Linked DNA regions of Homo sapiens: region 1 is linked to region 2. Evidence: promoter capture Hi-C in 16 types of primary human blood cells and fetal thymus (Javierre and others, 2016). All regions are on one chromosome and are shown on one strand. Each heading gives the region's core, a stretch centred on a gene start or on the middle of the fragment in contact. The rest is flanking DNA. Distances are from core to core; before and after follow the strand shown.

Region 1 (3,204 bases), core at 33-2,532, 120 kb after region 2:
TTTTATTCATGTCAAATCTACAAATCTTGTCCTTTATGTGTTTTGAGTTTTATGTCATTACAAGGAAGCTCTTCCATTGCCTATAGCCCTAAGATCTTATAGTTATTTGCCTATTTTTTCTCTGAGTAATTTCATGTGAGCTCATATGGTTTGGCTCAAGACTATTTCTTGCCAAAAGATTAATGACAAAGAGAGGGTCAATAAAAGCTGCTAATAATCTCATATTATTAATAGAGTCCTCCTCAAGGTTAGAAAGAGAATCTACAGCTGTACTGAAAGTACAATGAGAGCAACCATGGGGGTCTATATGCTTTACCCATGGTAGAGAAACTATAGACCAGTTATTAAATGAATAAATAAGAGCAAACAGTGGCATATCCCTGCCTAGAGCCACCAAGCTTCTCTGATAAAATATGGGCTTAAGAAAATCAAGCTAGGAATTTGTCAAAGATAAGTCTATCATAAAATGTACATGCGGCACTAATAATTTTTATTCTGAAGAAAAAACATGAATGTAGACCTTTACTCTGCCTCTATTTAGGTGGAATAATACACATTAAAAATATGTTTAAGTGGAAACTTCCGCATGCATCATTAAATGTGGTAGTTTGAGAAAACAAAGTCAATTTTTTGCACAATGTGTTTGATAACATCTTTTTCTGAAATTTGTCAAGAGAAAGAAAAAAAGCTGCAATTGGGTATGTGTATGATGCTTCCCTAGAGAAACAGAAACAATATATTACACACACACACATGCATACACAGGCATACACATATATGTGTATATACATGAACACACACATATGTGTATATACGTATTTATATACACACAAAAAGGGATTTAGAATAAGGAATAGGCTCACACAGTTATGGAGGTGGGCAAGTCCAAAATCTGCCCAGCCAGTGTCCCACTTGGAGTCTGAAGGCCGGAAGCTGCTGTAGAGCCACGAAGAGCTCATGTCAGGCGGGAAGAGCTGATGCTCCAGTTCAAAGACTATTAGGCAGAAGAATTTGCTCTTAATCAGGGGATGGTCAGCTTTTTGTTATTTTTAGGCTTTCAACTGATGGGATGAGGCCCACCCACATTAGGGAAGGCAATCTGCTTTAGTCAGTCCATGGATTTAAATGCTAATCTCATACAAAAACATTCTCACAGAAACCACTCAAAATGTTTGACCAAATATCTGGTGCCCCATTGCCCAGTCAAGTTGACACATAAAATTAACCATCACCATGTGTGTAATTTTGAAATGTGATTGTGTAGCCCAGATATTACCTATGATGCCTGTCCTTTGAGATTCAAATCAAATTCATTCAAATTCCATTCCATGTGAAGTGAACGCCTGGCTGTCTCCCTGGCTTTTCCAGGAATTCTGGGTGCATGTGAGACTGAATTATGTTCTTCCCAGTCAGTTCTGACTTCATGCTCTGGCTTGAATTTTCATTTTTATGGATTTCTCATTGTTCCATGTGTGTTTTGTTTCTACATCACACAGTGTCAGCAGAGACACAGCTCAGTTTCTCTCCCTAATTTCCACATATATATGCACACAAATACAAACACACACACGCCAACACTTCGTCCAAAATATTTGTATGTATGAGAGATTTAATGAAGATATTGAGAATACAGGAAGATTTCCTATACCAGAAATGCAAACAATTTATGTTAGACATTTTTGATCATAAATATTTTGGCCATTTTGGCCCATTGAACCTACAAAAGTAAAGTGAATACACCATGAGGGGTTGCATTACAATCCACTGGGCTCAAGAACACAATATTAGAACTTTTGCTGATGTTTCTTTTCTTTTCTCTTTTCTTTTGATTTTTCTTGTTGTTGTTGTTGAGATAGGGTCTTGCTTTGTTACCCAGGGTGGAGGGTAGTGGCAATCATGGTTTACAGCAGACTCCCCCTCCTGGGCTCAAACAATCCTCCCAGCTTCCAAAGTAGCTGGGGCCACAGGTGTGCACCACCCTGGCCAGCTAATTCTTTTTATTTCTGTAGAGACATGGTCTCACAATGTTGCCTAGGCTGGTCTCAAACTCCTGGCCTCAAGCAATCCGCCAGCCTCAGTCTTTCAAAGTACTGGGATTACAGGCATGAGCCACGATGCCTGGCCTGATATTTATTTTTAATGTAAAAAATAAGAAATTAAGCTTTACCAATATCAGATCAATAAGTATATTTACAGAATTTTAAAAGAAATATACATATATTTGAAGAACATCCTCAAAAATATTTTACTGATTAACATGCAGAATAAAAAAACGCATTTGGAAATTACGGCTTTAACTACATGCCTGATTTCTTCACCTTTTTTTTTCAAGCCCTCCTTTCTTTTCTTTCTCCAATACTTGTTTCCACCTTCTGTGGCAAAAATAATAATGCCAATGAGTGTCAGTTATGAATATCTCCAACTCTCATCCATTATAACTGAACTTTCTCCAGTACTTATCCCCAACTCTATCATGGGCTTGCTTTTGGATTTCAAAGATGCATTTACTGTAGTTTTCTTCGCAACCCACAAAGCCTGGAGCAAAAGAACAATAAGATGGTTTACTTTCTCATTGTTAGGAATAACAATTGGAAGGAAGAATTATCCAGTGGTTAGTTTTAATTTTAAACAATATTTCTCTCTCTCTTTCAAACTACTGGGCATTGGAGCTGAAGTGTGTGTGGCTTCAGAATGTTTCCCTACTGAGATCACTGGGAAATTCCAGTGTCAGATGAGAAGTGGTTGTGGGGACCTTGAGCAGAGAATACAACCTGTTGGGATGTGGGAGGAAGCACAGGGAGGGGTATCCAGCAGGGCTGAGAATATAGGACAGAGACATTTCCTAAGTTAAGAGTTCTAGTGGCTACTGCTGGTTCCTTTTTTCAATTTATTTGGTCATGCCAACCTTTTTCTCAAAGACCATCAACAGTGTAAGACATCATTGCTCTGCTGGACATAGTTTAAGAAGGGTAGCATACATGTAGCCTAGTACCTGACCTTAAATAGGTACTTAATAAATATAACTTTCTTTTCCCTTCCAAGGCAAAAATAATCTGCCCACCAAAGATTCATGCCCTTCTTTACTGTTGTTGTACAGAAAAACAGCTGCCACTTCGATATACAAAATTCCTACCCCAATATACAAAATTCTGATCATTTAACTTCCCCAAGGAAGATTAACATTGATAAATCTCAAAAGATCCT
Region 2 (3,358 bases), core at 356-2,855:
TAAAGTAAGAATTTATCCATAGCTTGGTGCCAACTTTTGCCTCTGGCTGCCATTACTATTACAAAGTTTTATCTACTAAATTGACTCATATCTAAAAGTACCAGCAGCCACCAAATAATTTTGCATTTAGATGCGTAAGGATGGTTGCTTCCACTTTATTCCCTAAATCAAGCTTGGCATGCTTTTAGTTTTTAAAGTAAATCTGTAGTTTGACTTGAATACCCTCATCCATCATTAGGTAACTTTTAAAAGCTGATGTTATTTCAGGGTGGAATTCTCTTCTACTTCTCTTATCCTCTCATACCCTTAGTTTTTTGTAGTAATAGCCTCATCCCTATAATCAAATCCAGAGACGGGGAGAAGGTAGAGCTGGGAATTCATTTTTCTCCCTACAAATCTTAATTATTCCTCAAAATATTTGTGAAGTAGGAAAGCATGTTTTCAGCACCCATTCCTCACTATCATCCTCTTACCCAATTGTCTGATTAGTTCCTCCTTTTATCTTTTGTTACTGTCTCATCTGGGCATTTAGCCTCCTCATTTTACTCTTCAGTCACTTAGGACCCTGAACTATGAACTCACATCCCTGTTAATCTGGGAAGATGTCTATCCTTTGAATCTTTTCAACTTCCTTTTCTCACATCAAAATATAGTGATGCTGGGTTCCATTTATTCAAGGTCATTCTTTTTCTTCTGCTAGGAAACAGCTAGATTATCTTGCAACCTAGTCTGCTGTAATGGATTAATGAAAGGCAATGTGCTAGTTCCTTATCTCCTGAAAAACACCTGAAAAATTTTAGAAGGATATTTTATAAGACCGCTTTTAAAATGAAGTAGTGCAAAATAGCAGAAAGAGTAAAAGAATTTAGAATTTGAAATTAGAGTGACATGGGATCCATGACTCCTATTCATTTCCTAAGAAATCTTCTACAAATTACTTAACCTCTCTGAACCTTCTATCCTGCCTTTACTGTAAAAAATGGATACTAACACTTACCTTCAACTTTTGTTGTGCTGTAAAATGAAAAATTGTAAAAGTACTCAAGATATTGGCTGCTGTACAGTAGGTGTCTTACACATTGTAGCTAATAAGTAAACAATATTGTAAGCCAAATAAGTGACTCAAAATCAATTACTGGTCAATGCTAATAATCTTAATGAACAAATATTTCTTAAACACTTTGTGTAGGAAGAAAAAAATACAAGTGGTACCTATGAAATAATATTCTACTTTACCTAGGCACGATGCCAGTTCTTCTCCAGCTATTCATCAAACAACCAACTATTCCTTCATTTATTGATTAACTTATTCATGTACCTATTAAGTGCAGAAGGCTGGACTGGGTAATATGAAGAATACAAAGATGTATACATAATCCTGTATTGACTTACTGTTGAATGTGACAGAATATTCAGGTATTTTGGATAGGTTAGAAAGATATCTTGATCCTGTCTTCAGTTATTAGCCTAATAAGAATGGAAACAGCTTGCAAAAGTAAGACGCAAGTAGGGTAGCAGCAGGCTCATCTGGGGAATTACTGGTCTGAAGTTTGGGCACAAATTATTGGAGCCAAAGAAGAGAGAAATCTATATCCTTTAGGAAAGTTGAAGTAAAGATCATTTTCAGAGATACAGATAGAATAGATTATGACTCAAGCTTCAGTGGCAAGGTGTGTATACAGTCACAATATATAGAAAACAGACTAGTAGTCAAGGGCACCAGGGGACAGGGCAGGCAAGGTGCAGGGTGGATGAAGTGAGGAGGGTCAAGAAGTAATTCAGATCTGTCTGAATTATAGCAGGGCAGACCCTAGCTCATTTTGCCAGGGTGGGTTTTAGTCACTTACGGAAGCCACACCATTCTGGATGAGGGAATTGGGGAGAAGAGCATGATGAAAAAAGGGTGCAAGGAAAATACTGGAGAATGTTACCATACGAATGTGTGCACAAGATGAAAGAAAAATTAAACTGGCCAACAAAAGTTCAAGGAATGCTCTAATTTAAATATTAGATATTCTAGCATAAAATTTGCAATTCAAGAGAAGCTGGTTCTCCTAAATTTACATCTTTATAAGGTAGACAGACAGGAATTTATATTTTGTCTTTGGCACTTATCAATCGTGTACCATTAGACAAATTATTTAGCCTCCCCACAACTTAGTTATCCCATCTGTAAAATGGGGTGAAGACTAGTACTTGCTTATAGGATGGTGGTGGGCACTACCTGAAATGCTGTGTGTATATGGCTCAGCACAGTGCTAGGTACATAGTAGGTAGGCAATGAGTATAAATTATTTTCGGTTTGGATTCTATGTCTATGCAGAGGTCTCCTCAAGCTTTTGCAACTTGTCATATAATTGGTGTCTATTTTTATGTCTTTTAGATGGTCAAAAAAATAGACCCTCTCACCAAAGTCAAAAAGAGGTCAGATTGAGCCTGAATAATAGTAGCACACTTATGAGTCATTTAATTTCTTTGACATCTCCTTTTCTCATCTAGTTGTGAATTATTTATGACATCTGTGCTCTTGGGAAGAAGTCCAAGCATATAACATATCTCCAGCTCACTCCTGGAGGGTCTTTCCAAGGCCCAGGGTTTCTGCCACTTAGTATGTGCTTACTCAATATTGTCTTGATTAATGGCATTGGAAGTAGAGATAATAGCAGTGCAGAATTAATGGGCTAGATACTTTGTTATTGAACACAATTGTGTAGGGTTGAACTAACAAATAGGTAATGCTTCTGCAAAGTGTGTAAGTAAAAAATATAAAATAAGTAAATAGATTATATATTCATCAGTCTATTTAGAAAAACTTACTGAGTAGCTACTATGTGTCAGACACTGTTCTATGCACTGGTAATATCCAGAACTCTGGATGCAGATATGATATCAAGAACATTGGGTACAGGGGTGATATCCAGATTGCTGGGTGCCGGGGTGATATCCAGAACACTGGGTGCAGGGGTGATATCCAGATTGCTGGGTGCAGAGGTGATATCCAAAACACTGGGTGCAGGAGTGTTATTGAGATCACTGGGTACAGGGTGATAGCCAGGATACTTGACAACCAGTGTCCCTAGAGCATTAGTCAGAACTGACAGTGGTGGTGCTCAAACAGTATCCTGGAGGTGCTCTTCTCTGCCAGGTATGAGCCTTCTGCCAGGTGATGCCTCTCTGAAGCTTCTAGTACCAAGAAGGGGCTGGAGCAGTAGGAGATCATTTGGAGGAGTCACAATAGCAGCTATCCATGAACTAGTCAGAAATAACTTAATATTTTGAAACTTTTGCTTTAATAAGCTGAGCAAACTCTCGCTTCTGGCTGTGACCAAGATAGATAAGGTCCCTTATCACAGGGCTT

Evidence for each region. Contacts are between HindIII fragments. The CHiCAGO score rates a contact against its expected background, and 5 or more counts as called.
Region 1: a contact is called between a fragment that was not itself captured here and the fragment with the promoter of NREP-AS1 in region 2, in 2 of 17 cell types (M1 macrophages and M2 macrophages). The highest score is 5.8, in M1 macrophages.

Annotation. Positions count from the first base shown.
Region 1 is chr5:111,786,736-111,789,939 of GRCh38, reverse strand. It overlaps a transcript of NREP not described here. Among named protein-coding and RNA genes, the nearest start is that of NREP, 31 kb to the right of the region's middle. The HindIII fragment of the contact is 1,763 bases long and covers 401-2,163 here.
Region 2 is chr5:111,910,755-111,914,112 of GRCh38, reverse strand. NREP-AS1 (NREP antisense RNA 1) reads right to left here and starts at 1,605. Exons shown (of 4, transcript NR_046678.1): 1 at 1,393-1,605. It also overlaps a transcript of NREP not described here. The HindIII fragment of the contact is 1,485 bases long and covers 175-1,659 here.